Regions from separate parts of the Homo sapiens genome. Here all the other regions are linked to region 2. Evidence: promoter capture Hi-C in human tissues and cell types (Jung and others, 2019). All regions are on one chromosome and are shown on one strand. Each heading gives the region's core, a stretch centred on a gene start or on the middle of the fragment in contact. The rest is flanking DNA. Distances are from core to core; before and after follow the strand shown.

Region 1 (2,993 bases), core at 216-2,715, 350 kb after region 2:
GCTGTGCCAGTCTGTACTTCCAGCAGTTGGGAGCCCGTATGGACCAGGGCTAGGACTGGTTCTTCTAGGGCCCCAGAACCAACACAGGCCTGAGCACAAGGTGTCAGTAAAGGCTTTCTAAATAAATGGAATATCACTCCTCTCCAGAGAGCTCATAATCATCCCTCAAAACCCAGCTCAAATGCCCCTTCCCAGAAGCTCTCACCTCCCCCTCTCATCTTCCCTCACCCGCTTCATTGGTGACTCAAAGCATGGAGCATACCCCTTGATGACAGTACACGTCACACTGTATTTTTGTGAGCACCTTAATGTGGTTTCCCCAGCTCTCCATGGCTGACTGGGACCTCTCAAGAGCCAGGCCCAGGTCTGTCCATCTCCATGCCCACAGGGTCTGGGCCAGAGAAGGGGCTGAAGAAATAGTTTTTGGTGAGCTTCTGGGTCCTGTGAGGGATCTTAACTCCATGCCCAGCTGAGCTGAACTCTAATTCTCCGCATGGTTTGGGGTTGGTGGGGCTCCTGGTGCCCCGGACACAATGGCAAATATGAAGGCTGCCCAGGACCTGGAGGACTCAGCGACCCTGCCTCTGCCATTTGGCTGTGAGTTTCTGTAGGAGCTCATGTGGTCGCCGGCGGAACTTCTTCTGGGTGAAGTAGAAGAGGATGGGGTCCAGCACGCTGTTGGCACTGGCAAACGGCCGCGTGCCTTTGTAGGCCGCTGCAAAGGCCTCCAATACAGTGCAGGGGACGCCCGGCGTCGAGCGCACTGCCAGGTAGGCTGTCTTGGTGATGTGAAAAGGCAGGAAGCTGATGGCAAAGGCAGCAGCCACCACCACGGCCATGCGGGCCGCCTTGCCACGCCGCTCCTGGGCCACAGGCTCTGCCGGGCCATCCTGGCGGCACAGGCGGCAGGCCAGGAGACAGTAGCAGGCCAGCAGGGCAGCAAAGGGCAGCAGGAAGCCGATGACAGTGAGAGCCATGCCATAGGGCATATAGTGGGTGGCCAGGGCAGGCGGGCTGAGGTCATAGCAGACAGTGCGGTTACGCTGGATGCCTGTGGCAGCGAAGATGGCTGTGGGCAGGCACTGGGTTGTCACGGCCAGCCACACGGCTACACACACTAGCCAGGCAGCCCGGCGGCCCCCACGTTTGTGCCAGGGGGCCAGCGGGTGGCAGATGCCCAGGTAGCGCTGGAAGCTGATGCAGGTGAGGAAGAGGATGCTGCCGTGCAGGTTGGCATAGAAGAGGAAGCGGACCAGGCGGCAGGCGAAGTCGCCAAAGGGCCAGTGATCACCTTGGGCATAGTTGTAGATGAGCAGGGGCAGGGAGCAGGCATATAGCAGGTCAGCCAGAGCAAGGTTTAGGGTGTACACGGCCGTGCGGGTCAGGGCCCGGCGGGACGTGCAGATCTGGGTAATGACACAGATGTTCAGCGGCAGGCCAGCCGCCAGCACCGCCGAATACACAGGTGGCAGCAGCAGTTGCTTGAAGTTCTCGCGGTAGACACAGGTGGTGGGTGGCAAGCCCAGAGCCTGGCCTGTGCCATTGTCCCATTCCATGGCTGCCCAGGTGGGTTTCCTATGTTCAGGGAGGCTGGGAAAGCAATACACAGCCTGTCAGTGACATGCTCACTCACCACCCAGCAGGCCCTGCCCCTCCTCGGGCCTTGATCTCCCTGTCTGAACAGTGAGGGCACTAACTTTGTCAACTCGGCTACTCTAACCACCCCGTGAAGCCCCACAGAGCCCTCACTTTGAGAAAACTTGGGATACAATAAAGCTAACTCTTGGGAGCAATCTGATTCATTTTGTTTATATATTATATATATATATATATATATATATTTTTTTTTTTCCTTCAGCCTTCCTAGTGAACTTCTATTCATCCTTCAAAGCCCTGATCATATGTTTCTTTCTCTGTTAGTGGAGATTGATGGACTTGGGTTTGAATCCCAACTCTGTTATGCATTTGCTATATGACCTTGAGGTGGTGATTTCATTTCACCCGAGAAAAGGGGGAATGCGGCACCTGCCTCTCAGGGATGTCACGAGGTTAGAAGCACTAAATCATGCTGTGCAGGGCTGCCAGGGGCTCACTGGGGTGTGGAGACTCTGGTCATGGTGGATCTGCATGTCTCTCAGAGACTGAGACCTGCCTGAGAACAGGGGCCAGGTCTGGTGTCTCTCTGCATCTTCGCCCAGGGTCTGGGGCGGAAAAGGGCCCTGATAACTCTTAGTTAACCAATGCGAAGGGTCCACACACCAGGGGCTCACTGAGGACCGCACCCATCTCCTCAGCCTGAACTCCGCCTTCCAAAGCCATGGTTCTTCTGGCAGAGGTCTTGTTATCTGTAAAATAGGGGAAGGAGGTGATACCCAGTTCCCCAAGGCTTCTTTCCACTTGAGGCTACAAAGGCAGGTTTGGCAGAGCCTCTGACAACACAGCGCCTCCTAGTGCCCAGAGTGAAAACAGCGTCCCTGAAGGCGGATGGGTGAGGGACCGAGTCAACCGTTTGTTTACAGAGATGGAAATCCAGGCACAGTGAGGGGCAGGGACTGCTCCTTCTTTCTTCGTGACTCAGAGCAGAGTCAGAACCAGAACCCAACTGCCCAATCCAGAAGAGACAGCTTAGTGTAGCCCACAGACATGGGATGTAGAGGTTACATGACCAACTTCAGAGCTAGGCAGGCCTGGGTTTAAATGTTGCTCCCCCACTTCCATGCTGTGTGAAGCAGGTTATGTCACAGTGTCCTCATCAGTGAAATATGCGGTGATGACATTCAGTAGTGCTCAATAAATGCCATGCCATTGCATTCTACATCTTGTCCCTCCTCTCATTCTTTCGGGCTGGGTTTTGGGAGAGCCAGCAGCACAAATACCCTAAGGGGTTCCCTGATGGGGTAAGTCTGACTCCTAGACACTCACCTCGAAACTGACATTGCCATATTACTGGTGTCTAGAGAAAATTTGCAACTTAAATCCAATGGGCCTTTGAG
Region 2 (3,189 bases), core at 1-2,500:
CCGCTCCCTCCCCTCTCCACGGTCTTGACACAGATCAGACAAGAGGGTCAGGTGCAGACTCCTTTTCCAGCCCCTCCCCTTGATGCACCCACCTTGTCTACACTTGTTGCGGATGTTGCTGCCTAAGCGGCCGCTACTCGATGCTGCTGCCACCCAACCCGCTGCGCCTGCGCTTTGTGTGCCCCGGAGAGCCTGGGGCATTTCTCTCCTCCCGCAGCGCCTGAGAGCCCAGCTGCCCCCGGGCCCCGCCCTCCGGACCTGCCCACCCCAGGGAGGGGGAGTGACGTGAAGAGATGCTGACCCGAGGCGTACTGGGACTTGTAGTCTACCCCTGTAGAGCTGGGCAGAAGCAGCCCCGCCTGCAATTTTACTTTTCTATTAAGACATTTGTTCACTCATTTATCATGAAATACTTTTTCTTAAGAATCATTGAACTCAGTTCCTAGAAAAAAAGAAAAAGTAAAGTTGCAAGGAGAAGCCAAGCTCCTAGTTTTGCATGTTTTTTTGATGCTTCCCCTTTCCATCCCCAGCTTCCAGTCTAGTGAGGGAGATTACATGGAAACACACAATTGGAGCACAAGGTGTGATTTAACAATGGAAAAGATGAGCCTGACTTTTCTCAAGGGGTTCAGGAAGGCTTCCCAGAGGAGGCTGAAAGGGGCCTTGGAGGATGAGGGGCAGTTTCCTAGGCGACCCGAAATTTCCCCTATGAATACTGTCAGGATGTTGAAGAGTGCCCAGCATTTCCGTGTGTCTAGAACATAAAGCGCAGGGGTGGGGAGGGCATCGGGAGTGTCAGGCGATAGAGCTGCAGGGTTTGGAAAGAAATAGCACAGAGGCCTTGCATGACAGGCGGAGAGCTTGGATGTTAGGACGCAGTGACTGGAGCTGGGGGTGGGAGTTTCAAGATGAGGAGTGAGGTGTGTGATTAGGGGGTCGGAAAGGCCCCTCTAGGGCACAGTGAAGAATGGACTGGCGGGAGCCCACCTGGAGAAAGGAAGACTTTCTGTATCTATCACCTCGGACTGTGATCATTTCCTTCAATAGCTCAGCCCCGCAAACCCTCACCTACCAGCAGCCACAGGATGTCATTCAGAGACCAGAGGATGTCAGGGCCTAAAAGACTTCTGTCCCGTCCCCTATGTGGCAAGGGTGCCCACCCTGCCCTGGGCCCTTCCTCCTGTCCCAGAGAACTCTTCCTTACCGGGGCTGCAGGGCTCATGGTTCCTGGGTGGCCAGGGCAGCATTTCCCAGAAGGCTCCCGCAGCGGGGCATTTCCCTGAGCGCCTTAGAGATAAGGGGATCAGGAAGGTGCTACCAAGTGGGAGGCTGGAGGGGGAGGCAAGGAGGGAGCGCACAGATCCCAAGGAAGGTCGCCCTCTTTCTCCAGGCTCCTCCCAGCCTTTCCAACTGATGGCTCTGACCCTAGGTTCACTAGACAAGTCATCCCTGATTCAGAAGTGGTCTTGGCTCAGCATCGCCGAGGTTCCCGGAGTGGAATCGGGGCGAGGTTGCGGGGGCAGGACAGGAACCGGGCTGGTCCTCCTCCCTAGGTTGGGGGCGGGGCTACATCTTCATTCTTTGGCCTGGCAGGACAGCGCCCATCACCCCAGTCCTGGCTGCGCAGTCTGGCTCTTTAAGCCTTCCTCTCTTGCTCCTGAGTCTCTGTAATCCTGACCTCGAGCTACCCTCGCTCCTCGGCCCTTTGTGCGGTGCGTGCCCTGCTGAGGGATTCGCCATGGCCAATCCTATTAACCATTGAGTTCATCCCCTCTTAGCCGACTCAAGAACCAGCTCTCCCATACCGCGTTTTCATCTCTGTGCCTTTAACTCACTCTCTGTCTGGTTCCTGGAACGTCCCAGTCCCAGCTTCTCCTAGCTAAATTTTCCACCTCCACAGTGGAAGGAAGAAAGGAAGCAGTGGGAGGGGGAAAGAGGCAAGGAAAGAGATATGGAAGGAAGGAAAGACAGAAGGAGAAAAGAAGGGAGGGGAAAGACGGGAAGGCAGGTAGGTAGGGCTGCAGCTGGCCTCGGAGGATCTGCGCCTGGGTCCTGCCCCGACCCAGCCTCTCTCCAGCTCTCCCTGCTCCCCTCCCCGATGGGCAGTGGGGCATCCTTCATGTTGAGGGGCGGGGACGGTGCAATCATCTCCTAGATTTCATTCTCTGGATTTAGCAACCAGATGAAAAAGGAAGGTTCTCCAGCAGCAGTGGAGACTTCAGGGGAAGACTCTCCCCTACCTCCCAAAGAGCGGGCACTATGACGAAAAAAAGAGGAAAGGACGTGGCAAACTAAAACCACAGACACTACTACCGAATCTAAACGTAGCCGGACTTGGCCCATGTCTCTAAAAGCTGGTCAGTGACCCTCTTTGAGAAGCCAATAAGGAAGTGTAGACTGTCCTCAGGAAAAAATCTGCGTATAATTCCTGGGAGTTCATAGACCTCTGAAGCCATGATAGTCATGGTTGGATTGTTTTTAATTTCCAGAGCTGTGTAGATGGGAGGAGAGTGTAGATTGACGAGTGAGAGGTATGACAGTATGTCAGGAATTCCAGCCGCAGCAGTCCTGGCTGTGAGAGACTTTGTTTGTTCAATCAACTAAAACTTATTGAGACTAATAAGCCAACAAGTAACTTTTACATTTCTTTGTGGCTATGGTGCACAGAACCATTGGCAGAGAGGAAAAGATTTTGCCATTTCAAGTGTCCCTGGTGAATGAACAGCCCACAGATAATACATTGTTTAGGAAATAGTGGACTGGCTCATCAAATTCAAATTTACTACTTACATTTTCTAGAGAGTATAATATAATGAGAATAATTTATATTATCTTTATTTTAAAAAACTTGAAGTTTATATCAAGATGCAATTTGAGCAAAAGTAAAAGTGCTTATGAAAACATTTTAAATGGCCGGGCGCTGTGGCTCATGCCTGTAATCCCAGCACTTTGGGAGGCCAAGGCGGGCAGATCACCTGAGATCGGGAGTTCGAGACCAGCCTGACCAATATGGAGAAACCCCATCTCTACTAAAAATACAAAATTAGCTGGGTGTGGTGGCACATGCCTGTAATCCCAGCTACTAGGGAGGCTGAGGCGGGAGAATTGCTTGAACCGGGAGGCAGAGATTGTGGTGAGCCGAGATTTCACCACTGCACTCCAACCTGGACAACAAGAGCTAAACTCCGT
Region 3 (3,031 bases), core at 232-2,731, 300 kb before region 2:
CCTTTAGAACTAAAAGGTTAAACAGAGCAAACTGGATCGGGGTATCATTTTTAGGAGCGGCCATTGTCGAGCCTCTGGCACCCATTCCTCTTGTTTGGCTAACTGCCAAACTGGTTTGGGTGGAGCAATGGCCACTGAAACGGGAAAAACTGGAGGCTTTAAAAGAATTGGTGCAAGAACAATTGCAAAAGGGACACATAGAGCCTACTTTCTCTTCTTGGAATTCTCCTATGTTTGTCATTAAGAAAAAATCAGGGAAATGGAAAATGTTAACAGACTTGAGGGCCGTTAATGCTGTAATTCAACTCATGGGCGCGCTGCAACCAGGGCTGCCCTCCCCAACTACGATTCCTAAATACTGGCCTCTCATAGTGATAGATTTAAAAGGTTGCTTTTTTACCATTCCTTTAGCGACCCAAGATTATGAAAAATTTGCTTTTACTGTTCCCGTCATAAATAACAAAGAATCAGCAGATAGATACTATTGGAACGTATTTCCACAAGGCATGTTAAATAGCCCAACTATTTGTCCAACTTATGTTGTTAAAGTTTTTATGCCAGTTAGAAAACAGTTTAAAAAATGTTATATCATCCGTTACATGGATAATATCTTATGTGCAGCTGAAACTAGGGAGGAATGAATACTATGCTACAAACAGAAAAGGCTGTAACTGCTGCAGGATTAATCACAGCCCCCGATAAAATCCAAACTTCCACTCTATTTCAATATTTAGGAAGGAAAGTAAAACAAAGTACTATTAAGCCTCAAAAGGTTCAAATTCAAAGAGATAATTTAAAAACTCTAAATGAGGCCGGGCGTGGTGGCTCACGCCTGTAATCCCAGCACTTTGGGAGGCTGAGGTGGGTGGATCACAAGGTCAGGAGATGGAGACCATCCTGGCTAACACGGTGAAACCCTGTCTCTACTAAAAATACAAAAAATTAGCCAGGCGTGGTGGCAGGCACCTGTAGTCCCAGCTACTAGGGAGGCTGAGGCAGGAGAATGGCATGAACCCAGGAGGCGGAGCTTGCAGTGAGCCGAGATTGCACCACCGCACTCCAGCCTGGGTGACAGAGCGAGACTCTGTCTCAAAAAAAAAAAAAAAAAAAAAAAAAACCTCTAAATGATTTTCAAAAATTATTCCCACTTTAGGCATTCCTACTTATGCTATGTCTCACCTCTTTTCTAACTTATGAGGTGATTCTGATCTTAACAGCAAATGCTCTCTATCCAAAGAAGCATTGTAAGAACTTCAATTAATTGAAGAAAAAATTCATCAGGCACAAGTGACTTGAATTGATCTACTACAGCCATTACAGTTTTTCATTTTTCCTACTAAACATTCAACTACAGGTGTTACTGTTCAACAGGATGATCTAGCTGAGTGGCTTTTTCTACCTCACAATACAACTAGAACACTTACTCTGTACTTAGATCAAATTGCTGTACTGATAGGTCAAGCAAGGCTGTATACAACAAAATTAATGGGATATGATCCAAATCAAATTATAGTTCCTTTAAATAAACAACAAATTCAGCAAGCTTATGTTAACTCCCAGAAATGGCAAGTTAATTTAGCTGGTTTTATTGGTATACTTGATAATCATTATCCTAAATCCAAAATATTCCAATTTCTAAAATTGACATCATGGATATTACCCTCCACTACTCAAAAGACCCCTATTGAAGGGGCCAATACTGTTTTTACTGATGGATCTAGTAATGGAAAGGCCTCATTTGTAGGACCTCAACAACAAGTTGTTCAAACTGACTTTGCTTCTGCTCAAAGGGCTGAACTTATGGCTGTAATTACAGTACTAAAAACCTTTAAACAGCCAGTAAACATTATTTCTGATTCGGCCTATGTGATGCAAGCTGTGCAAAATATTGAATGTGCCTTAATTGAAAATGTAACTGATGATCAACTCAATCTTTTATTTCATTCTTTACAACAAGCAGTACAACAAAGGCATTCCCCTTTGTATATCACTCATATAAGAGCACATACTAACCTCCCCGTCCCTTTAACCAAACTCAATCAAAGGGCAGATGCACTGGTTTCTGCAGCTTTTACTGATACACAAACATTCCATTCTTTAACCCATCCTAATGCTGCAGGCCTTGGAAACAGATATGGCTTATCTTGGAAACAGGCTAAGGAAATTGTACAACATTGCTCTGCCTGCCAAGTCTTACACCTGCCACATCAAGGAACAGGAGTTAACCCTAGAGGTTTATCTCCAAATTCCATCTGGCAGAGGGATGTAACACATGTTCCTGCCTTTGGAAAGTTGTCCTTTGTTCATGTTTCAGTAGATACTTACTCACATTTTATTTGGGCCACATGTCAAACAGGAGAAGCTACAGCTCATGTTAAAAGACATCTTTTACCTTGCTTTGCAGTTATGGGAATCCCAGAAAAAATCAAAACTGATAACGGCCCAGGGTACTGTAGTAAAGCTATGGCTACATTTTTTTCAACAGTGGAATATTACCCATACTACAGGTATTCCATATAACTCACAAGGACAAGCAATAGTTGAAAGAGCTAATCATGCTTTAAAAACTCAAATACAAAAACAAAAAGGGGGAGACCAGGAATATAAAACACCGCATATGCAATTACACTTAGCTTTATTAATATTACATTTTCTAAATTTACAAAAAGATCAATCCATGACTGCAGCTGAACAACACTTGACAGGACAAAAGGAAAACAAAAAGGCCAGACAAGATATATGATGGAGAGATACTCACACAAAAAACTGGGAAAAAGGAAAGATAATTACGTGGGGAAGAGGATTTGCTTGTGTCTCTCCAGGTGAAAATCAGGTACCTGTGTGGGTGCCCATCAAACATCTGAAGATCTATCATGAGCCACACCAGGAAGAGAGGACTCTGGGAAGAGCCAGAGCTCCCAATACGAGTGATGGCGTGAATGAACATCTCAGAGACAAAAGAGAAGACCGAGAATACTCGTCAGGCGGATCCTCCAACATGGGGACAAATCAAGAAGCTGGCGCAGATGGC

What was found. The method cuts DNA at HindIII sites, captures the fragments that hold promoters and counts their contacts. A contact is called where the count stands out against the background at its distance.
Region 1: a fragment that was not itself captured here is called in contact with the fragment with the promoter of PLEKHB1 in region 2 in 1 of the 25 tissues and cell types used here (aorta).
Region 3: a fragment that was not itself captured here is called in contact with the fragment with the promoter of PLEKHB1 in region 2 in 1 of the 25 tissues and cell types used here (hippocampus).

The regions. Positions count from the first base shown.
Region 1 is chr11:73,295,082-73,298,074 of GRCh38, reverse strand. It overlaps P2RY6 (pyrimidinergic receptor P2Y6), which reads right to left. Exons shown (of 3, transcript NM_001277204.2): 2 at 2,260-2,345; 3 at 1-1,590. The coding sequence starts at 1,556. The coding sequence ends at 570. Among named protein-coding and RNA genes, the nearest start is that of ARHGEF17, 12 kb to the left of the region's middle. RefSeq lists an enhancer at 2,669-2,718. The HindIII fragment of the contact is 6,460 bases long and covers 1-2,993 here.
Region 2 is chr11:73,644,642-73,647,830 of GRCh38, reverse strand. It overlaps PLEKHB1 (pleckstrin homology domain containing B1), which reads right to left and starts at 1,250. Exons shown (of 8, transcript NM_021200.3): 1 at 1,205-1,250. The coding sequence starts at 1,222. RefSeq lists enhancers at 1-131, 767-1,685 and a silencer at 172-391. The HindIII fragment of the contact is 18,602 bases long and covers 1-3,189 here.
Region 3 is chr11:73,941,356-73,944,386 of GRCh38, reverse strand. No RefSeq gene overlaps it. Among named protein-coding and RNA genes, the nearest start is that of DNAJB13, 8.2 kb to the left of the region's middle. The HindIII fragment of the contact is 7,569 bases long and covers 1-3,031 here.